Linked DNA regions of Homo sapiens: regions 2, 3, 4, 5, 6 and 7 are each linked to region 1. The links are contacts of gene promoters, found by promoter capture Hi-C in blood cells and fetal thymus (Javierre and others, 2016). All regions are on one chromosome and are shown on one strand. Each heading gives the region's core, a stretch centred on a gene start or on the middle of the fragment in contact. The rest is flanking DNA. Distances are from core to core; before and after follow the strand shown. Region 1 holds the start of GAR1 (GAR1 ribonucleoprotein). Region 2 holds the start of CYP2U1 (cytochrome P450 family 2 subfamily U member 1). Region 3 has its middle 11 kb from the start of RPL34. Region 4 overlaps HADH (hydroxyacyl-CoA dehydrogenase). Region 5 overlaps HADH (hydroxyacyl-CoA dehydrogenase). Region 6 overlaps RPL34-DT (RPL34 divergent transcript). Region 7 has its middle 1.9 kb from the start of OSTC.

Region 1 (3,093 bases), core at 73-2,572:
CCAAGCCATTCTTAGTTAGACACTACTCACCCTCTCTCCTCTTTAATGTAGTAAGTTTCACTTTCTGTGACTTCCATTCCCATCTCATTGTTAATTACTCTAAAACTACCCTAAATAGGTGTTTTTCTAGATTTCCTCTCTGGCAGTTTCCCTCTCAAGCAAATTGTTTTCTCACTTATCTACTTTTGAGTAGTAACAGAAAGCATGGGCTTTGGAGTCAGAATACTTGGCTTTGTATTTCTTTCTTTTCTGTACAGACAGGGTCTCCTGCTTTATTATCCAGGCTGGTCTCTAACTCCCGGCTTCAAAAGATCCTCCCGTCTTAGCTTCCCAAAGTGTTGGGATTACAGGCGTGAGCCACCGCACCCAGCCTGTATTTCAGCTATATCACTAATTGATCACTTATCACTAACCTTATGACCCCAGCAAAAAAACTTAACTCTAAATCATAGTTTTCTCATCTGTAAAATCGGGGAATTAGGCATAAGTACTCACGATTACCTATTTAATATCTTCCTGTCAACCCTCAAGTTCCACCTCCAAGATGCATTCTAAGTATCCCTCAGCTTTCTTGATCTCCCCACTCCACCCTTACATGCTACATTCTCCACACAGGCTTGTGTATCCCAAACTTGCTGCCTAACAACACAAACCCCCAACCCACACCTACTCCTTCAAATAAGCTAAATACTGAAGACTGCATACAGACTACACGTTCTGGAGGTCCTTGGTCTTGGCCTTTGTTAAAGCCTCCGCGGCCACCCCCTCGTCCAAATCCTCCCCTGCCGCCGCCTCTGAAATTGCCGCCGCCTCCACCGCCGCCTCCACCTCGGAAGTGGTTGCTGCTGCCACCTCGGTTGAAGCCGCCACCTCCACCACCTCGATTAAAGCCTCCACGACCTCCGCCTCGAAAAGACATTCTCTCTCCTCCCTGATGAAAAAAAAACGACCTATGTCTTCTGATCACTGTAGCCTCTGAGTATACTCCAACCCCTCGGAGCTGCGGTGAGAACACCATAAAGGAGACAAAAGCAGCCCTGTCACCTCACCCACGGTCAGACAGCCAGTGACCACCAACCTGATGGGTGAAGAGTTTACTTCTCCATGGTCTCGTGAGCGCCGACCGACCACACACCACCCTTGCCGCCCCATGATTAGTATCTCCTCCCCCTACAGACAGCAAGGTCTTCGCACCGCATCCCCTTCCTTCCTCCCTCCCTCCGGCAGTTGGGTTCCACGTCCAGCATTTTCAAATCCTCCGGCTTCTACGGCCACTCACCGGCGCCACGTGCCCCTCTGGCCCTGGCCTTGCGCACACACCCACCCGCGGGGTACTTCCGCCGCGCTGGAACCTCCTCGGTTACCGTACCGCCACAGAGTTTTTTAAAGACCAGAAACTTGAATAACTGGTTTGCCAAAAAAAAAAGCCAATCACCCGCGGAACAAGCAACACTGGTTCCAAAACAGCCTTTAGCGCTGGAAAAGTGGCAATAATAGATAACCTTAACCACTAATTTACAACAGAGAGGCCAACTTGCCTGACGCTGAGCCGTGGAAGTGACGTATAACAGCGGCGTCCTTTGCAGCACGACGTCCCGGAAGTGCTGCGGCAATGTTGCTCTTGGAGATAGCTGGCGTTAGGGATCCGCCTTCTCTCCCAGAGGCGGGGCAGGTTTCTGTTTGGTTGCCGCCCTAACGGCCAGAACTAAAGCACCTTGCAAGGAATGAAGTTGGTTCTTGAAGTCCGTGCTGACTGGCTGGGCGCATTTGCGCATTTGCTTCTCTGGCTGCAAAATGGCCCGCAACAGCACTCACTAATTTGTTGCTAACTTCAGGAACTGTGCGGACAGGTCTCTGAGGCTTCTGAGCCGCGCTATGTCCAGTAGATCTGGGCGCCTCAGAACCTGTCACAGCCGACGGAAGCGTTTATCTGAGTTTCTTGTTTCTTCCCAACCTTTTGATTTTCGCACCATTACGCGCTCAACTATGCCTCTTCTTTTGTCCTATGGTCTCAACTAATTAAAGGAAGAAAAGCAATGCATGTGTGTGTGTAATTTTAAAGAAACTATGCTGTCTTATAGAAAACCAAACCATCATTTTTATCTTTTGTACCAGGTATTCAAGTATGTTTTGAGCACCGACGGGCTGTGAACTGGACTGTGCTGAAAGCTCCTCTCCCTCTTCTCTCTTTAAGCCCTTTATATTTGACATCAGCTTCCCCCACATTCTCCAAAGCTTCTCTCACAAATAAAGGTAATGACTTCCCATTTATTAAATTTGGTTGGAGTCTTTTACACCCAAACCCTCTGAGACCTTACCTTGATATTTGATCTCGTGTTTAGAAGAGGGTGGAACTTGGTACCTATCTAATTCAGAGGGTTATTGTAAATGGGATTTTAAAATACCTTTGTAGGCGGGGCGTGGTGGCTCACGCCTGTAATCCCAGCACTTTGGGAGGCCAAGGCAGATGGATCACTTGAGATCAGGAGTTCGAGACCAGCCTGGCCAATACGGTGAAACCCCTTCTCTACTAAAAATACAAAAATCAGCCGGGCATGGTGGCACACGCCTGTAATCGCAGCTACTCGGGAGGCTGAGGCAGGAGAATCGCTTGAACCCGGGAGGCGGAGGTTGCCGTGAGCCGAGATCACGCCACTGCACTCCAGCCTGGACGACAGAGCAAGGCTTGGTCTCAAAACAAACAAAAAACAAAATAAGTGAGAGAGGAAACTTTACTTGTTCTTTTTCTTTTAGTTTAGTAAATGCTGCAATTTGATTTTAACGAATGTTGGTCTTTTTATGGGCCTATATAAGTGTATTATTTTTGAAACAAAAAATGAAAATTACCTATTTAGTATGAAACCTTTGCTTATCTTTTGCTGTGTATTTGCTCAATTCTGAATTGAACTTGAGATTGTCACACACAGATTGCATTTTCAACTGAAATGAGATGATTTTTGTCTTTACTCTTAAAACTTAGTGAGAAAAAGCTTGCTTGAACAAGAAGTTTTAAAGTATGTCAAAATGTTTATTACTTTCTTAAAAATGTCAAGCTGCTCTTCTTTCTCAGAAATCCAAAACTTGTAGAAGCAC
Region 2 (3,272 bases), core at 375-2,874, 1.9 Mb after region 1:
ATATAAGTGGATCATACAATATTTGTCTTTTCCGTTTAAAATCCTGATGCAAAACTCTGGCTTTATCAGATTCTGAAAAGCCTAGATCTTTCTTTGCCATGTTATAGGGGCAGGAAATAGCATTCATTTAATAGATACTTGAACTCCTACTATGTTTCAGACAGCAATGACTCTGTCCTCCTAGATGTCAGAACAGTGGTGAAGACTGACATCCAGGCCCAAGGTCATAAAGTTATGTAGCGTCAGTTTTGAAAAGTGTAGTGAAGGAAAAGTGCTTGGGCAAGGGACCTGGTTCTAACAAGGGAGGCTACCCTACTTGCAGAGGCTGTGAGAAAAGGCTTCCCCAAGGAAAAGGCATTTAACACCTGACTGATGCGTAGGAGTGACTCAGAAAAGAAGTCAGAGACCTAAGCCAGCCAGTAAGACAAAGGGGGACGGTAGAGACAGGTTAGATTGGACATTTTATTGCAGCAGATAACACGTTTTCCAACCCCCAAAAATGTCCAATTTAGACTCCCATACGCAGGAATCAGAGGCTATGAACCAAAGCCGGAGATTTGGTAATAGGCTTCTTCTGTGTTTTCTGGACTTTTTATCTTATTGGAAATTATCTTCTTAAATTCTTACATTCGAAACCCACAAGGTAAAAAGAATATCCTTCCCTCTTTCTAACATGGGGGCCAAAGTTTCTCTCCGAGGTCACAGCTGGTGGAAGGGAAGGCTACTTTTGGAAAGATGGAACCTGGCTTGCCACCTTGTCCTTCCGCCATCCCTATTACTCTCCCTCAATCTCCGGATGACTTTTCTACTTATGATCTTGGAGTATGAGCAAGTCACGCGTCCGTCACTACTTGATGGGATCTTAAAGGCATCAGAAAGGAGAAGCGCCGCCACCACCATCACCTGTTAGTTCAGGATGCAGGTGTGAGGCAGCCTGGGGGCGCGGGCGGCCGGAAGGGGCACAGGAACTGCAGCCCCCACGCACCTGGAGACTCATCCGCGGCATCCGCGTACCCACAGCCCACGACCTCCCGCTCACCCTTCTCCTTGGTCACGATGGAGATGAGCGGCACCCGCGGGCGGTCGCTGAAGACCTCGGCCTGCTGCACCAGCGCCTCGCGCACGCTGTGGAAGTCGCTGAGGACCACCACCAGGTAGTGGCCGATAAAGAAGCTGAAGATGCTGCCGTACACGCGGGCTAGGTGAGCCAGGAGCACCTGCGGGCCTATGACCGAGGGATCAATCCCTGCGGCCCTGGTCCTGCTGCTCAGCCAGCTCCGCCGCCGGAGGAAGGGAGGCAGCAGCACGTGACCGAAGTTGCCCACCAGAGGCCAGGGCGTGGGCCCGGGCGGGATGCCCCGCGCCCGGCGCCTCCGCAGCCAGCTCCAGCCCAGCAGCGCTACGAGGCCGCATAGCAGCAGCGCGCCCCCGCTGGGGTCCAGCCGCAGCAGCCCCAGAGGCGCACGCAGGAGGCGCGCGGGCCAGGGCGGGTCCTCGGCCGGCGGCTGCGACGGCCCCGGAGACGACATGGTCCGGGCGCCGGCGGCCTCGGGTTCCCCTTGCTGCCTGGAGGAGACGCGCACGCAGCTGCCTGACCCGCGGCGCCAGTGTCCTGCTCTGCTCTGGAAGGTCGGGGGCGGGCAGGGGGTGTAGGAACGCCCCCGGATTGGCTGCGCCGCGCGCATTCTCCCCGCCGCCGCCACTCAGCGACGCCTGGGCGGAACCTGGAGGCGCGCCGGCTGCCTGGCGGAGGGGGTTGGCGGGCTAGCAGGCGGGGGACCTGAAGTTTGCCCCGAAGTCCGGTTACGACCCTTTGCAGGGTCGGGCTTGGCGGTGACTGTCCCTGAAACTGGGATGCTGGCAACACAACCTTGCGCTCTGATTGGCTGTTGGTTTCCCTTGTGTCATTCGTTTGTCATTATCACTCGTTTGTCAGTTGACAAACACAAACGCATGGTTATGAAGTGCATAAACCGTGTTAGGATCTGTACTGAGTGTGGGAAACTGGTGAACAGGCCCGTGAGATGGGTCGGCCTTAGCACCTGTGCCCTGAGCTGGGAGAATGGGGTCAACGCCCTATTCCTGCATGCTTCGGTGTAGTAGTGAAAAGACGGGGTTCCTTATCTAAACTGGGATTCGCAGCACCCTTTCCTCCACGCAGAGACAGCAGGATGCTGGGAAGCCGTGGAATGCAGAATCTGTGGGTGTCGGCTTGGCAGCCAACTCTGCGGAAGGGATGATGGCGGGAGTGGGGGGAGCGAGGGGCGGGCAGCGAGGCACGAGGAGTCACGTTCTGAGAGCTTGCCCTGGGCTAGAAAACTTATGCGGAGAGCGAAAGCTGTGTCCATTCCTGCGTGTGGCCTGGGTGCATTAGAAAATGTACTTAAATCCAGAAATAGCGAAACCAGAATTTGCTTGGTGGATTTAAGTAGCTAGAAATATGAAAAGAAGATAACCGGTTGAGGGAGGGGTGGCAATATTATTATTGGTGTTAGACAACACTTGAAAGGCTGAGGTTGAAATATTAGATATGAATTGTATAATACTTTAAAAACAAAGTATTACTTTATTTTATCTTCTCAGATAATGGCTTTCCTGATAAGGGCTTCCCTTTCAGTCTTGTTTAGGCCAAATCCTGTAGTTTCTGTTCAAGTTGGATTGAGCATAGAATTGTCTGTACTGGGCCATTTTTCTAGCCGTTTCATTTTTCTCCATACATTAAAAGTTTGAACACCACGCTGTACCTATAAAAATGTGATCAAAGAAAGCATAGTGAGTCCTCAAATAAATACATGATCCATTTTATTTTTCTATAAACAAGTGATGCCAGTAGGATATGTTAAATTTCAAGTCCACTCTGTTCTCATATTCTTTTTGACATGCTTTTCATGTTATTTTAAGCTTATGCACCCCAAACAAAAAAAAAAAACCTCCACACCTCTCATCTTCTATAATTAACCACTACTTGTGAGATTACTTTTCTCATTTTTTTTGAATTTTTGAATTAAGAGAAGTTTTTAAAAATTTAAACTACTTGTTTGCAGATACGATCTTCAACATGACATTCTGGATGTCATCTGATTCTAGGGCTTTGCTCTCTGAAACAGTAGCCACTATATACATCATCCCATACAAGCAATTTAAATTCATAAATGATTTTAAAATAGTTGAAGCTGTGACTAATTTAACAACTCCAACAGCCACCCTTTTATATTGTACAGGATGTAACTGCACGTGTAGTGTTTTCCTAAATCTCTCATTTTCACTAGGTT
Region 3 (3,464 bases), core at 6-2,505, 1.2 Mb after region 1:
AAATGGAAGAAAAAAGAACGAATATAAAACTTCCAAATGTTAGAAAAGCTTGTTCCTGTCTTTTTGAAAATGGCTACTATACCATAAAAAAGAACAATATCATGTCCTTTGCAGGAACATGGATGGAGCTGGAGGCCATTATCCTTAGCAAACTAATGCAGGAACGGAAAACCAAATTCTGCATGTTCTCACTTATAAAGTGGGAGCTAAATGATGAGGACACATGGACACATAGAGGGAAACACACACTGGGGCCTATTGCAGGGTAGAGGGTGGGAGGAGGGAGAGGACCAGGAAAAATAACTAATGGGTACTAGGCTTAATACCTGCGTGATAAAATAATCTATACAACAAACTCCCATGACATAAGTTTACCTATATAACAAATCTGCACATATACCACTGAACTTAAAAGTTAAAAATAAATAAATAAATACATATACAAAAACTCAAAAAAATGGCTATGGAGATTTTGATATGCTTAAAAATTGATAAAACAGTTCTCTTTAAAATTATTAAAATGTTCACTCTGTTGGAAATGATATCCTTTGCAAGGATTTACATTTTGAATGAAAAGTTTTAGATGACAATCTGAAAATGTGCCAGAGTCTACATAACTTTCCAAAATGTTAAGGGGTACTCAAGTAAAAAGAAATATTTAAAGATCATTGCACTGTACCATTGTCTTAGTGGTATATTGCTATGTAACAAATCACCTCAAAATTGAATGGAATTTAAAAAGCAGCCATTTTATTTTTTCCCACCATCCATTGGGCTGATTAGACTTAACAAGGCAGTTTTCTACTGGTCTTGCTTAAGGTCTCTCATGCAATTGCAATCAGATGGCAGCTTTGGCTAGAAGCAGAGTTGTCTAGAGCAGGGTCCCAAACTATGAGCTAAGAGACCAAATCTGACCTGACATCAGTTTTTGTAAATAAAATTTTATTGGAACATAGCCATGACCATTTGTTTATGTATCGTCTATGGCTACTGACACTCTACAATGGCAGAATTGAGTAGTTGTGAAAGAGAGACCCTATGGCCTGTGACATCTTTTATGACTTACACTAAGATGCAATAAACACGTGAATTTTCTTCAAGACCATTTGTTCTTTAGGCAAGTCAAGCTGTAAGCTTATTTTCAACCCTAGAATGAGAGAGAGTTGAGAGAGTAAAGTCTTCAGGCTATTTGCACAGGCCAAGGAATATAGAAGCTGAATGAATATCAAGGGAATTTGGTCAGTAAATTTGATCCTTTTCCTCCTTAATGGTAGGTGGTTGGTGCCTAAATTATCTAGGGGATTGCATAATTTAAATATCCCCTAATGTAGAGGAGGATTTATTTGCTCCTAACTAAAACAGTTTAGGAAAGCTTTTCTTTTGCTGGTGTCCCTTAGGATGAAAAGTAGCCCTGGGGCCACACAGGTATAGTAAATCTATGTGCTGACAGGGATGTTCCTTCTTAGTGATTAACAATTAGTTCACACTTTTCAGGTTTATTGGCCTTTAAATATTGAGAGTGAATTGGATTGCCTGAATTGATTTTGTTTTTCATAAAAACGATTTCTTGACTTACGGCATTTGCACATGTTGGTTTCTATGTCCAGAGTATTCTCCCTTTTTGTCACCCAGACAACACCTACTTATCTTTGTTGTGGGCTTAAACATCACTTTCTCAGAAAAAGCCTCCCTTAACTCCCCCATGAGGTTCCCTTTCCACATCGTTTCACAGCACTGTGGACTTTCTTTTTGTGAGTCTAATCCCAGTGTGTACAACAACAAATGTATTTATATGTTCCCCATTTAACATTGTCTCTCCTGTGTGCCATGAGGCCAAGGGAAGAGTCTCATCTGCTTTGTTGACTACTGTATTAACAATTATCCAGCATCATAGTTTCTGGTACATGGTAGTTTCTAATAAATATTTATCGAGTAAATGAATGAAAGCTAAAGCAATTATAAAAGAATGTAAATGTTTGGCAAAAATACTTACATAATCCTTCAGGTTAACCAGAAACATTTAAGATTTATTAAAAATTATTGAATAGCTAATATTTTGGAAACCCAAAAGCATCTTTTCATCCAGAATTATTGCGGATCTTATCCTTTAATTTAGAAAATGTTAGGGACTGAATGTTTGCATCCCCCTCAAAATTTATATGTTGGAGTACTAACTTCCAATGGGATGGTGAGGCTTTGGGGAGGTATATATTATTAGATTTTGAGGATGGAGCCCTGATGACGAGATAAGTGCCCTTCTAAGAAAAGACATGAGACAGGTGATCTCTCCACCACATGTGGATACAGCAAGGAGATGGCCATCTGCAAACAGGAAGAGACATGGAATCTGCCAGTGCCTTGATCTTGGACTTAGCTTCCAGAACAGTGAGAAATAAATGTTGTTCAAGCCACTCAGTCCGTGGTAGTTACAGTAGCATGAACTAGCTGAGATAGAAATGAGATTCATAAAGACAATGTTAACTTCTTTTCTTTTTTTTTTTTGAGACGGAGTCTCGCTCTGTAGCCCAGGCTGGAGTGCAGTGGCGCAATCTCGGCTCACTGCAAGCTCCACCTCCCAGGTTCACGCCATTCTTCTGCCTCAGCCTCCGGGTAGCTGTGACTACAGGCGCCTGCCACCATGCCCGGCTAATTTTTTGTATTTTTAGTAGAGACGGGGTTTCACTGTGTTAGCTAGGATGGTCTCCATCTCCTGACCTCATGATCCACCCACCTTGGCCTCCCAAAGTGCTGGGATTACAGGTGTGAGCCACCGTGTCCAGCCAGATAGTGTTAGCTTTTCTACTCCTGGTTTAGAATAGTTGTTTACCACATCTAGTTTTTAAGAAGATGGAACTTTCCCCTTTGCAAGATTTTTAATTCTTTTCCCTTCCATTCATACAGAGAACTGGTCACATAGAGAACTGGATTCAATAAAAGGCTCATTTTGGATTTTATAAAATCAAACCCTAAACTCTTTACAGAATCGAAGTATTAATAAGTACTTATAATAACAATCAAGTCATTATCAAACATGTACCAGATATATATCAGAGCTCCTGGTACCAAGAGCATACTATATTAGTGATCATATACTGTAACTTGAGTAGTATCTAGGGATGTGCTGGTAGTATTTAACCTCCAGCTCTCTGGGGGAAAACAGGATTTTGCAGCATTTGCTGAGGTGTAAATACTCTCACCATAACAATCTCAAGATGCCAAGCAGACGTCACTGGATGCAAAACTGGAAAGAGATGCACACAACTGGCTCTCTCAAGCTGAGGTGAGGTAGCTCCAGCACACCAACTTTTTCTATTGGACCTAATAATGGCAGAATAATTATTACCGGCAATAAATAATATACTTTAGGGAAAAATCATAACATTCAGAACTGCTTCACAATCTTACTCTGTGAGGATTATATGTGATTTTAGTTGGTTTGATAAGATGCATAGTTTACAGTGAAA
Region 4 (3,076 bases), core at 160-2,659, 1.8 Mb after region 1:
CCCCTGGCTGATTTTTTATTTTTTGTAGAAATGGGGTCTTGCCATGTTGCCTAGGCTGTTCTTGAACCCCTGGGTCTCAAGCAATCCACTAACTTCCACCTCCAAAAGTTCTAGGATTACAGGCATGAGCCGCCGCACCCAATGGGAGCTGGTTTTAATAGCTCTGATCACAATGCACAGGAGATGTACCTCATCTGGGGACAACGCTAAGGCACCATTACATGGGGTCAGAATTAACCCCAGGAACTGTGGACAAGCTAGTATAGTGTATCTAATGAGAACTGCATTTACAGCATGGGCAAGCTGACCTCGACGAGATAATATGAACACATGTAGCTGCCCTCTGTGTGGTCCCATCCAGCCCACGGTTTCTAGTGCTGCCTTCCCATTCTGATGCCTCTCAGCACTGCCCATCAGCTCTGGCACAAATAAGTAAATGACATTCCACAAAGTTAACAGCCTTTCTGGATATCACTAAGCAAGACACAGGGCTGTGAAGAAACAAAGCATAGAAGCCCTCCTAGATATGAGGCTCAGGGACAACCTTCTACCCTCAGGTTAAAACCCATCCTAGGCAACTGGTGGCAGGGCTGGTGTAACACAGAAAAGCAGGACTGAGAGAGCTGGCAGAGCGGGCAGACACACACAAGCTGACACCCACTGACCTCCACAAGTTTCATGACAGGCACTGGGTTGAAGAAATGGAGGCCAGCGAATCGGTCTTGTCTGGTGGTGGCATTAGCTATGCTTGTAATCTGCAAGGAGGAAGTGTTGCTGGCAAAGATTGTATGTCTGTGAAGAGAAAATATAGTGGGAGTATCAGAGTGAATCTCTTCTTTCAAAACAGCATGACTCTTGGATGCAATGCACAAGGTGACTGCTTACTGCCACATCTGTTGTCCTGACCCATTGGGGGAATGAGGGAGAAGACACATCTTCATATAAGAGGCTGAAATCAAGTGACTTCAGCTTTTTAAAAATTTTTAAATTTGAAATAAAATTGGAATTTCCTGTTCCGAAGAGGTATTTAACCTTCACCAATCCTTCCTTGATTTTCCAGAACAAAATTTCCCCTACCTACTTGTATTAGTTAACTTCCAAGGTATGTGAGATAACAAGAGGTGGCTAATTGATCAAGCTACTTAACCAACCCCAGTCACAAACGAAACTCAGTGATCAAAAAATAATGAAAGAAAGACACCTAAAAGCAACAAAATTCTAAATGAACACATAAATCCTCAATCAGAAACATATGATAATAAACGTGAATTAAGATATTTTCCCTGAAGTGAAAAGCTTTATTTTTCAATTGAATGGGAATTAAAATGAAAACAAGAACACCAACATGGTTCAAAAAAATTTTAAGGTTACATGGGTAGATATGGGGAAAAGAGGATATAGGCATATGCATATATAAGACATTAACTTATTCATTAAAAAAAATCCATACTGACTTAAACCAAATTTAGTTCTTTAAGGCCACAGTAAAGTGGCGTGCCAAAAGCATGAGAGGAAAAGCTTTAAACAGGTTGACTTCCAGGCTTTCCTGCAGCGCCACCTTGCGGATAAAAACATACAAACAGGCCTGGTGCTGATTCCAACCAAGATGGACTGTAACAGGGCAGGAAAGGAAAGGATCCCTTACTGACCAGGCTTGGGGGTTTCTGCTTACCTAACAGGCAATACTATAATCTGCTCAAATCAGGGGCGGGTGGGAGGAGAGGAGGAAGAGAAGGGAGAAGAAACCAGTTATTTGGAAAGGAGGGAAAAGAGGTAAAAGGCGAGACCAGTGTGGGTAGGCAGCGGAGAGCCTTCTCTTTCCAGGTATGAGCACATCCACCTTCTCCAACAGCTTCCAAGGTAGGCCATTTAAATGCCAGGGTTTCCTTTTTAAAAAAAAAATGACATTGTTTTAAGGTCTTAAAATTTCAGTTTTCAAAGTTTCTTGCTTTTGGTCATTGGGGAAAATAATATAAACTATTCCCCATTACAGAAGGTAATGAAAAAAAGATCCTCTTCCAATAACAATGTGTGTGGCCAACACAAGCACTGTTCAACCACACAACCTGCACCACAAGCACCTGGAACCACAAAAACAGAGCAGGGACAGCCTGGGCCCAAGGCTGTGCCAGCTGTGGCTCCACACTCCCGTTAAGAAAAGAAAGTGTTATTTTAAAGATTAGTATTACAATCGTAATACCCCTTTTTGTAGAATGTTTGAAGGGCCATTCACCTGCAAAAAGGGGAAACTTGGGCACATTTGGTAAAATAAAGTGACATCAGAGCCCAGTTCCAGGTATCACCAGTCCAGGGCACTCTGGCACATTTTATCAGAAGGAGGAAATGATCTCTCCCCAGCAGACCTCTGCTTCTGCCTCTCCCAACAGGGTCAGGCTGACTTTGTTCCTAAAAGTCTCACACTGTCTTCAGAGAATACTAAACACATAGGACAGTCTTTTCATCCACAAACAAAATGTACTCTGGGCTGGGCACGGTGGCTCACACTTGTAATACCAGCACTTTAGGAGGCCGAGGCAGGTGGATCACTTGAAGTCAGGAGTTCGAGACGAGCCTGGCCAACATGCCCCGTCTCTACTAAAAATACAAAAATTAGCTGGGCATGGTAGCGCATGCCTGTAATCCCAGCCACTAGGGAGGCTGAGGCAGGAGAATTGCTTGAACCTGGGGGGCAGAGGTTTCAGTGAGCTTAAGATCATGCCACTGCACTCCAGCCTGGGCGACAGAGCGAGACTCCGTCTCAAAAAAAAAAAAAAAGTACTCTTACATGTTCCTGGAAACACTTGTCTTGAACCATCTTTTGTTTTTTTCATTCGGACACTCAGGTACCAAAAAAACTACTTTTCTCTTAAATGTTCTAAAAGAAAATCGACAACACAAGCACAGTGATTATTAGCAATGGCCCCAGACCCTAGTATAAAGAAGACAAGAGGGTTGGTGGGGATGGCAAAGGATTCAAGAGTCTGTACTTTGTCTAAAGGGGAAAGTCAGGACTTCGATCTGGCTGCCTGTGCGTCTGGTCATACTTTTCATTTGTGTGTCTTAGGCTGCTGCTAGA
Region 5 (3,213 bases), core at 211-2,710, 1.8 Mb after region 1:
AATTGCTGGAACTCCCTATATCAAAACTCTTCCGACAGTGAAGACAATCTAAGAGAAATCCTCACTAGATCAGGTCTGATGGGTCTATGTGAAAGCAGCTAATATTTATCAGACAGTTACTATCAAACACACTAATGCTATTCTAGGAGCTTGTATATTAGTTCATTTAACTTTCACAGCTGTCAGGTGAGTCTCATTATTCCCAGGTAAGTAAAGAGGCAGAGAGGAGTTAAGTGATTTGCCCAAGGTTCCTAAAGGCAGGATAGGAAGGCTAGCATCTAAACCCTGGCAGGGACCTCATAGCCTGTACTTTTGAGATTAGAATACCACTACCAGAAATAATAACATCATGAATATAACAGGGGGAGCCACAGAGAACATCCACATTATCTTCCTGTGGTCCCAGGAGAACTAGAGAGTGAGGTGTGTGTGCCTACCACAGATAAGAGAGAAGGGAGAGGGGAAGAAAGAAGAAACTCAAGCAAGGGGCAAGTGATTAAAGCTGGAGGCAGAACATGGCAGGAAAATGCCAAAACCTGACTGACTGAAGTGCCATTTCTGCTCTAAAAAATGTCCAAACATATCCCATAGCATTATTTTCTGTTGCCTGTGAGCCCTACCTCTTCTACCCTCTAGGAATGACAGTATCTCCAACCTCACCCAGAGTCCAATAACTAATATGCTAATAGAGGGTGGTTCTACATCCCAGTACCTCAACCAAGAGCAGAGAACAGCCCAACAAAGATAAGCAACAACTCGGGAAGTAGGGGGAAAACTTCATAACAAACAGACACATCTCATGTCCTTCAGCAGGAAGGTAACAACTGGGAGTACAAATATTCCCTCCATAAGGAACAGTCAAAAGGAGAGCTTACAGCCAGGTAACTGCTGGTCTCCTGTGATCCTGAAACTTCTCCTAGGCATCTGTACTGCTTTGCAAGCAAAGCAGTACTGTACTGTACAGCTCAACAGAGCTGTACTCACAGTAGAAGAGAATAAAGCTAAAAAAATATGAAACAACTCTGATCATTCTCTTTTTCAGCATCAGAAAATGCAGATTTGGGGGCAAGAAGAAGAGATGAGAGAACAAATCCAGTGGCTGGGGAGAAGCTTTCAGGTCTACCTGAATCCTTATCAAGCATGGTAGAGTCACACAAAATCCCTGCAACGTAGCAGGCTCTCCCTGCCCTTACTTTGTTTTTAATAGCCAAAGAAGCTCTCTCTAGAAAAAATATGCACTTTCTGCTTTTTAAAAAGGAGGAAAAAAAAAAAGCAAGCTTTGGGAGAGAAGAACCTATCCCCAACCCCCTTTAAGATGCAAACTTTCTCACTTCCTCAAAGAAGAGTAGTGCACTAAAAAGAAGGTTGCACCCGGAGAGCATGTAAAGTGTCTCAAGGGGGACATCTGAAGTGCCCCGTTCCCAGGGAGCCCACTGGCTCCTCACAAGTAATCTAATGAAAGCTATGCATTCTCTCTGGGCTCCTCATATGAAAAAACCCAATGTATGAAGCAAAGCCTAGAAAGGATTCAATACTGGAGAAATGCACACAGCTACCAGCTTTCTTCCTTTCTTGTTTTCCTCTTTATAAAGCAAAAAAACAACCTGTCCCCCACTCAAGGCTCATTTAATCCTATAAGCTTCTTTATTGGCCTAAGTATCCAGTGAAGATAAATTAGCAATCAAAACCAAGTCAGAAGTGTGTAATAAGCAAACACATGAAACAAGTTAACTTCAAATATTAACCTGCAGTCTAAGGGATTTTTTGTTTTTTTAATTTAAAACAAACAAAAGAAATGACAGGCAAAGTAGATACTCTCGGAAAATACACATGTACAAATGGCCTGTGCTCTGATCAAATGTAATTAAGCACTGAACTTGTCTTAAATTGCTTAATTGCTTGAGAAATGCATCAGGCTCCCACAAAATCTATTTAAATATTTTTTCATCCTTCTGAGCACAAACTGACGTGTTTAAAATGACAAAACTATTAAAATTATAAGCAGAACTGCACCTTGACTAACATTAAAACCACGTCAGAAAGTTCAAGAAAATTAAGCTAATGAAAATCAGTAACATAACCTCAATACTAGTTTGTGATTGTACTTTTATGGCTTTACTAAAGTTTAACAATAAAATGGGGGGTAACTAAAAAGTGTTCTCCCTCCTTTCAGAGGTCCCTGAAAAAACATACCCGCTGCAGCATCAGCGGGTATATGCATTCAAGATTAAGCAAGATGAAACAGGGAATCATGACCAATATTCTCCATCTAAACCTTACAGGCCTACCTCAGCAGCTGTGATCAGGATGGGAGTGGATATGAGGGGAAAAGGGCAAAAGGACAGGACAACTGCAATGAAGATGATGATTATTCTTTTTATTTATCTTTTTGAGACGGAGTCTCGCTCTGTTGCCCAGGCTACAGTGCAGTGGTGCGATCTCGGCTCACTGCAACCTCCACCTCTCAGGTTCAAGAGACTATTCTGCCACAGCCTTCCAAGTAGGTGGGACCACAGGCACATGCCACCATGCTGGCTAATTTTTTTGTATTTTTAGTAGAGACAGGGTTTCACCATATTGGCCAGGCTGGTCTTGAACTCCTGACCTCAGATGATCTGCCCCCCTCAGCCTCCCAAAGTGCTGGGATTACAGGCTTGAGCCACCATGCCGGGCCGAAGATAATTATTATAAAGGCAGCTAACTTTCTGTGAACTCTTATTACATGCCAGACACTGTGTAAGTGCTTGACATATGCTTGATATATGTAACTGCTTGACATATGCATGAATTCATTGAATTTATTCAATTCTCTCCCTACGAGGCCAGTACTAGCATTAGTCTACTTTAGAGATGAGAAAACCGAGACACAGAGGTAAAGTCCCATGTTAATACTGCATGAGGCAGAGCTAGCATGCAGACCATCCAACTTCTTATATTGAACTGTAGCCCATCTGTACTCAAAACACATCAACTAATTCGTCTCTGGCACTCAATAAGCAAAACAGATTTACCCTATGCCAAAAGCTGTTGGTCAAGGAGCATAAAGAATGAAGCAATACTGCCTAGAACTGCATGCTACAGGGTAGGGTGCAAAAGCAGATAAGCTAAACCACTGCAAAGCATTGCTCACAAATGTTTTAGAGGATTGGAGCTGTCAACTAAAGTAACTGAGGTTTTTCCAAACTGTGTTACATAAGGATGGAACTGTTTCTT
Region 6 (3,214 bases), core at 679-3,178, 1.2 Mb after region 1:
ACTTACATGTTTCCAATACCTAGAGCAGTGCTTGGCAAACAGTAAGCATTCAAAAATATTTTTTAAATGAATGAATAAGTAGAGATTAGCGCCTACCAAGGAATTATTCAAGAAGAATATCAAATAATAAAATTTAGTATTCTAGCGAAGGTTAGACTTAACAGCTATGGAGATAAAGTAAAGAGATTAAAAGCATTTTCATTGTAGAACTTTTACACGTTTTTCCATTATTGGGCCTCATAGCCTATATTGCACCATGAATCAATGCCTTTTATTAATCTCGTGATTATTTGTGAATGGCCCAATTATAGTCATATGTTGCTTAATGACAGATACATTCTGAGAAATATGTTAGGTGATTTCGTCTTTGTGTGAACATCATAGAGTGTACTTACACAAACCTAGATGGTAGAGTCTACTGCACACCTAGGCTTTATAGTATAGCCTTCTGCTTCTAGTCTACAAACCTGTACAGTATGTTACTGCAGTGAATAGTGTAGGCAATTGTAACACAATGGTAAGTATTTGTGTATCTAAACATATCTAAACATAGAAAAGGTAGAAGAAAAATATGATATAAAAGATAATGGTACACCTGTATAGGGCACTGACTATAAAGGGAGCTTGCAGGACTGGAAGTTGCTCTGGGTGAGTCAGTGAGTGAGTGGTGAGTGAATGGGAAGGCCTAGGACATTACTATACACTATGGTAGACTTTATAAACACTATACACTTTGTATACACTATATATATATTTATATATAAAAAGATAAATATATATACTCTATATACACACTATATATATGTTTTATATACACTAAATTTATAAAAAGTTTTTTCTTCAATAATAGACTAACCTTAATAAGCTTACTGTTACTTTTTTACTTTATAAAGTTTAAAAAAAATTTAACTTTTTGACTTTTTGGTAATAACACTTAGCTTAAAACACAAACACATTGTACAAGTTTTGCTACAAAGAGTTAAAATATCAGAGCCACTCTAAATAACCACTGTAAATTTTAGAAATAGGAGTTTGAAACAAATTAGATTTTTCTAATAGAAATGTTCTGAGCCTAAAGCCCTAAAGGGGAGTAAGGAAACCAATTAACTTTAATTTAAATAATCATGTCTTAAGTAGCAAATGAGCGAAGTTCTATTGTTAAAGAACAACTGTACTAAATCCCCGAAAGGTTAGATTCAAAATGGTATAAATACAGTGGTTTCACATCTTACTAATGAAATAAATTTCTATTGGTCATTGTAACCTCTGCTTCTTGTCTTACTGGACATTGTTACTGAGGGTGGAGGAAGGGAATGATTGAGATTAAGGGCAGAATAATTATGTGCAATTCCCATTGATGTTCCTATTGTTAGTAACTTTTTTAAAAGCAACCAATGAAACAGCTAATAATTTTATTCCTGGGAAAAAATAAGAAAATCTGAGCAAAGCTTATTTTCTTCTTTTAAGCTTGTATATATAGTATATGATTTTCTGTTTGTACTTGCTATTTAAAAACAATGTATTTATAATGATTGAGGTCACCATGGTGTTTTATATACAAACATGCCCCCTATTTACATCCACAATGACTGAATTTCTGCCAATGTCTATAAGCATTAAAGCAACCATCAAAAATGTATTAATAAGGCATATATTATTAATAAGGTATAATACAGTAGATACTAAACTCATGCCTGGAGTTTTATTCTGGATGAGTTAATGTAGTAAAGTAGGAAGAGAGTGAGTTTAGCAAGCAGTTTGAAGCCAGACGATGGAAAGTTTTAAATGCTATGCTTAAAGGCTTAAATTGTTTCTCTCGTGCCTTGTCTTTTGATTTCTTTCTCCTCACGTGCTACCTTTGTGAACTTCAGAAAGCAAGTTAACCTCACTGAGACTGTCTCTTTATCTGTAACATGGAAGTGGGAATCCCATATTGTGGGTGTGCTGCGGGAATTAACGGAGATAAAGCACGTAGCTGAGGCTGGCACACCATGGCTGCTCAATAGATAAATGGTCTTAGTATTGTTTTCTAGAAATGAAATGCTGCCTTCTGCTCTTCCTTATAACCAGTTTTGCACATCACTGTTACACCTTATACCTTACTAATGTTTGGTGTGTTCTTAGGAGAACATTTTTATTTCCTTGTGTTATTTTGGGGAACTCTAGAAAAACCACTATAGAATTTATCAAAATGGAAACATAGCATGGATTGACAGAAAAGGGCAAAAGAGTTAAAAGGGTTAGTGTGTCAACTCCTTGACTTTCTGGAGATCCTTTTTTTTTTTTTTTTCCCAAAACGTAGCCACTGCCTTTGTGTCTTGTTCCACGTCCTGTGTCTTGTTCCAATTATTTATGCAAATGAAGACAATTGTTTTCCTATGAAAGCTTGGTGAAAAGATGCTATAGAAAAATCCAGTGCATTTTCATTATTGCTTGCTCAACAGCAATACTCTTTTGTAGCAAGAAGAAAATAATTTTGCAAAATGCTCCCCCACCCCCACATGAAAAGTAAAAAGTACATAATATCATGTTTGTGTTGAAACTTTTTCTTCCAAAATGTCATAACCCCATACGAAAGAGAATTAAAATCCCATTATTTTAATTTACATCTAGCCACAAGATAAGTAAAGTTATCATTGAAATTCTAATTAAATGGGATGATTGACTAAGGTAGCACATCAAAGAAGAGAAGTGAATATGATAAGTCGAAGACTTATTAATTAGTCTGCGTGGTAGAAATTCCAGGGATGTCAAGCTGAGCCTGCTTCAAGGAGAAAAAAAGCAGACAAGAAAACGTTCGTTTCTTTGAAGTTAGGAACTGAGATAGTGATGGAGGTAATTGCGTCTGACTGGATCCAGTAATGAAGAGCTGTAAATCAGACTGCAGAATCGAAAGGAAGATTCAAGTAACGAATGTGGCTGCCTCCCCCTGCTGTGAAGAAACAGAATGCAGAGCGCACTAATTGACCCAGCCTATTTCCCAGTAGTTCTCTGTTATTATTTATTAATTTTTAATTTCTGAATTATTTACGTCCTGGGAAATTATTCTTGACAGGCTGTTAGGCGTGCCAAAGTTAATGGAGGAGGAAAGGACTGGTACCAGAATTAGCAGGGATGTAGTCACAGGCTACTGGATTTAATGATTTTGGAAAGAAAAATTGATTTCACACAGTGCGTCACTTTATACTACTTTAGGGATACACCAGCTATTTGA
Region 7 (3,305 bases), core at 795-3,294, 1.2 Mb after region 1:
TTGTGTACCTTCAAGGACCTGCGGGACTTCTAACGTGGCCAAGCCGGAGAAGCGGAGGCCAAGGAATCTAGGTGAGCCCCGCCCACTCGCTGACGCAGGGGATTTGAAAGCTGATTGGACAGGGGGCGCTCCCGGTTCCCAGAGCGGGAGATGAATGGGAACTTTTGGATATAAATGCCTTTTATATTAGAGGTTTTTTCAAGGGTTAGGAAAAGCCGGAGGCTGCTGAGCTTTTACTTCCCGATGTAGTCGTGGTAATAATAAGAATTAATAATAGTTGCTAAAGTAATATGTTACCAATTTTTTTTAAACATCCAGCCTGGATCACAAATGTCAACAGGACATCTCTACAGGGATGCCTTAATGCTGATAGCTTGGCGTGACCATAATACTATTTTGAATAACTCATCCTCTCAACTTTGCTCTTCCCTTGGTCATCTGTATGTCGCTAAAAGGTAAAATCCCTCTGGCCAAAAATCTTAAAGTCGTCTGGATTTCTCTCCTTACTAACCTTCTGCATCCAAAATATTAGTAGGTCTCTTTGGCTGTACTACCAAAATATCTCCAATTCATCTGCCCCTCACCATTCCACCACTGACACCCTAGTGTGAACCACCGCCATCTCTGGTCTGGGCAACATTTACAATCCAAATAGATGAAAATATATGATGGAGAATTAGTCATTAGGGATGGACTAGAAGGTCTAAAAGATTTTTTGTTTTCTGTTTTGCTTTTCTTTTTTATATAATCTTTTAAGACTCTACAAATGTTAACTTCCTTTTGGAGCAAGAGTTAAGAGTCACTGATTACATAAGTCCAGAGCATATTGACACATTATAGAGCCAATGTTTTTATATTTTTTTATTTGCTTGTTACTAAGCCCGTGGTTATTTTTACAGGATGCCATGTATTGGTTCTGCACTTCTAATTAGCTAACAACTCAATTGTTAAGAAATTGCTTGAAGACGGTAATGAAAATACTATCAAAACATTGTAGTATCCAATTCTAAGTACAGTTGAGGCTTGCTGCCCTTACTGTTCATTAGTGAGAGTCTCTCCCAGAGTCATATTGCCTATGTCTTAACGGAGCCACACGAATCTTAGGTTATGTAAAGGCCAATGATAACACCAATAATGAATGCATTTACACCAAAACCAGCGTTTATATGTAGGAAGTTTCTCTGGGCACTGTAAAGCAGAATGTTTCTGAAATTCCCACAGTTTTATAAGTAAGGAACACTTTGGAACAATTAAAATATTTTGCTTTGGTATGAAGAAAAAAATAAAAATAAAACATTTTGCTTTGGAAAAACATAGGGATTAAAGGTTTTTAAATTTCCTTTATAGCTTAAAAAGGAATCTAACATTAATTAACCACTGCTTGGCAGGTACTATGTTAAGTGATTTACATTTGTGCTTATATACTCTTCATGACAATTCTGTTAGGTAAATACTAGTATAACTGCTTTACATATGACAAAAGTGGCTCCTGGGAAGGGAAATAAACTCAAAAAGTGTAGTATAGTCTGTGACTGGATGAGACCTAAAAGGCAATTGCTGTAGAAGTAAATAGATTTAAGACGTTTAAAATGGTATACGTTTATATACTTATCCTTCTTCCTGTGTATACTAGGGACACATAATTTCTACCTACATTGTGGAAAACATATAAATTATTAATATATAATTTTTAAATGAAAAATTAATTTCATAAATAATAAAACTGCCAAGTCAGAACACACTGCATTCATCTATATGTTAAATTATTACTATCACTTTCCAAAAAGTAAGTTTGCTCCAGGAACCAATTCATTATTATTTTTTAACCTCTTAAGCTTTGAAATATTTTTCAACATGAGTTTGTAATATTCTATAAGCCACGTATAAAAGAGACCTTTCATGAGTAAGATATGCATATCTGTTATCATCCATGTCCTAACCCACAATTCCTACAGAAAAATGTTCTATTTAAACATAACATAAACTCTGTAACTGAAAACCAAAGAAATAATGAATATAGCAGTGGGCATTAGAGCATGCCCTTAAATAAACATATAATCAATCATTCAGTGGTTTTCTATTTATAGATGAAGAAGGAAAAATGTTGAGAGAAACACAGTTTACAATATAATATGCAGTAGAGCTGTCATCTTAAGCTACATATAAAAGCAAATGTTAATAATTCTTACTGTGCACAAGCAAATATATATTCAAAGAAGAAAAAAGTGTAAAGATGGTATCTACCAAGCTTTCTGTGTTCATTGTAGAATATTTTAATAAAAAGCCTTGAAGTCAGAAATGGTTCTGCCAGCCAAAAGAGAGGGAGAGCTCCACAAATAAGTTTTTAACTAAATTCTAAACAAACTAGAATTACAAAGGCTACAAATATTGTTGATTTCTGTTTATTTAAATATGTGTTGGAGAGGAAATTAGTAGCTTTGTTTTTTGTAGGATAATAATACTAATATTAACCTGGATTTTTATTTATGAAGACATTTTGCAGTTTGGTTGACAGTGTCTTGAATTATGTTCTTTCGCGCTAGGTTCTGTATAAGCATGAGTACGAAGCACTATTATGTCTCATGATCTAAATAAAAACTCTTTCTAATGCAATATTGTGGGGTTTGGTGTTATTGTTGTAGTTATTTTACATTTTGAAGGTTGTTTTTAAAATTATATGCAAGTAATGGCTGGGCACGGTGGCTCATGCCTGTAATCCCAGCACTTTGGGAGGCCTCCTCACCTGAGGTCAGCAGTTCGAACCCAGCCTGACTAACATGATGAAACCCCATCTTTACTAAAAAATACAAAATTAGCTGGGCATGGTGGTGTATGCCTCTAATCCCAGCTACTTGCAAGGCTGAGGCAGGAGAATGGCTTGAACCCGAGTGGCGGACGTTGCAGTGAGCCGAGATCGTGCCATTGCACTCCAGCCTGGGCAACAAGAGAGAAACTCCATCTCTAAAAATAAATGAATAAACAAATAAATAATGAAAATAAGAAATAAAATTATGCAAGTAAAACATAGGAACCTGCCCAATGTAAAATAATTAATTTATTCAAATATTAGAGACACATATGGAACGAGTTTCCCATTATCACTATTCTAATTTTAGTTCTCCTTCCAGAGGTAGTGAGATCACTGAGTTCTAGAATGTACAATTGGGATAAATGTACTCAGCAAATGGAAAAATCACCATATTGGTTTCCTGACCCATATTATGAGGGCTTTTATGGCAGGAAAGTCTAAGTGTAACCAGTAGAACTGCTTTTACCTACAGAAATAATAAATCTAAAGTGACTTC

What was found. Contacts are between HindIII fragments. The CHiCAGO score rates a contact against its expected background, and 5 or more counts as called.
Region 2: the fragment with the promoter of CYP2U1 here is called in contact with the fragment with the promoter of GAR1 in region 1 in 9 of 17 cell types (total B cells, non-activated CD4 T cells, naive CD8 T cells and 6 more); the score reaches 11.0 in total B cells.
Region 3: a fragment that was not itself captured here is called in contact with the fragment with the promoter of GAR1 in region 1 in 7 of 17 cell types (total B cells, monocytes, naive CD8 T cells and 4 more); the score reaches 11.7 in total B cells.
Region 4: a fragment that was not itself captured here is called in contact with the fragment with the promoter of GAR1 in region 1 in 5 of 17 cell types (fetal thymus, total B cells, total CD8 T cells and 2 more); the score reaches 7.7 in fetal thymus.
Region 5: a fragment that was not itself captured here is called in contact with the fragment with the promoter of GAR1 in region 1 in 1 of 17 cell types (total CD8 T cells); the score reaches 5.8 in total CD8 T cells.
Region 6: a fragment that was not itself captured here is called in contact with the fragment with the promoter of GAR1 in region 1 in 5 of 17 cell types (total CD8 T cells, naive B cells, naive CD4 T cells and 2 more); the score reaches 7.1 in total CD8 T cells.
Region 7: a contact is called between a fragment that was not itself captured here and the fragment with the promoter of GAR1 in region 1, in 10 of 17 cell types (total B cells, total CD8 T cells, naive CD4 T cells and 7 more). The highest score is 12.0, in total B cells.

What each region holds. Positions count from the first base shown.
Region 1 is chr4:109,813,991-109,817,083 of GRCh38, reverse strand. It overlaps GAR1 (GAR1 ribonucleoprotein), which reads right to left and starts at 1,322. Exons shown (of 7, transcript NM_018983.4): 1 at 1,280-1,322; 2 at 706-931. The coding sequence starts at 919. It overlaps GAR1-DT (GAR1 divergent transcript), which reads left to right and starts at 1,702. Exons shown (of 2, transcript NR_186620.1): 1 at 1,702-2,253. RefSeq lists enhancers at 577-646, 817-866, 1,217-1,266, 1,277-1,676, 1,847-1,946. The HindIII fragment of the contact is 3,017 bases long and covers 1-2,237 here.
Region 2 is chr4:107,929,901-107,933,172 of GRCh38, reverse strand. It overlaps CYP2U1 (cytochrome P450 family 2 subfamily U member 1), which reads right to left and starts at 1,624. Exons shown (of 5, transcript NM_183075.3): 1 at 1,040-1,624. The coding sequence starts at 1,529. It overlaps CYP2U1-AS1 (CYP2U1 and SGMS2 antisense RNA 1), which reads left to right and starts at 1,054. Exons shown (of 7, transcript NR_125929.1): 1 at 1,054-1,202. The region is part of intron 1 of LOC107986298 (a long non-coding RNA gene); the gene reads left to right. It overlaps LOC124900751 (a long non-coding RNA gene), which reads left to right and starts at 1,588. Exons shown (of 2, transcript XR_007058221.1): 1 at 1,588-2,200; 2 at 3,270-3,272. RefSeq lists enhancers at 887-956, 1,017-1,086, 1,747-2,254 and a silencer at 1,297-1,886. The HindIII fragment of the contact is 6,450 bases long and covers 1-2,903 here.
Region 3 is chr4:108,629,875-108,633,338 of GRCh38, reverse strand. It overlaps a transcript of RPL34 not described here. Among named protein-coding and RNA genes, the nearest start is that of RPL34, 11 kb to the right of the region's middle. The HindIII fragment of the contact is 238 bases long and covers 1,137-1,374 here.
Region 4 is chr4:108,017,256-108,020,331 of GRCh38, reverse strand. HADH (hydroxyacyl-CoA dehydrogenase) reads right to left here. Exons shown (of 8, transcript NM_005327.7): 4 at 666-792. Among named protein-coding and RNA genes, the nearest start is that of HADH, 29 kb to the right of the region's middle. The HindIII fragment of the contact is 222 bases long and covers 1,299-1,520 here.
Region 5 is chr4:107,992,294-107,995,506 of GRCh38, reverse strand. The region is part of intron 1 of HADH (hydroxyacyl-CoA dehydrogenase); the gene reads right to left. Among named protein-coding and RNA genes, the nearest start is that of HADH, 4.0 kb to the right of the region's middle. The HindIII fragment of the contact is 362 bases long and covers 1,280-1,641 here.
Region 6 is chr4:108,611,235-108,614,448 of GRCh38, reverse strand. All of the region lies in intron 1 of RPL34-DT (RPL34 divergent transcript), which reads left to right. Among named protein-coding and RNA genes, the nearest start is that of RPL34-DT, 7.6 kb to the left of the region's middle. RefSeq lists an enhancer at 2,140-3,214. The HindIII fragment of the contact is 918 bases long and covers 1,470-2,387 here.
Region 7 is chr4:108,647,087-108,650,391 of GRCh38, reverse strand. No RefSeq gene overlaps it. Among named protein-coding and RNA genes, the nearest start is that of OSTC, 1.9 kb to the left of the region's middle. The HindIII fragment of the contact is 413 bases long and covers 1,838-2,250 here.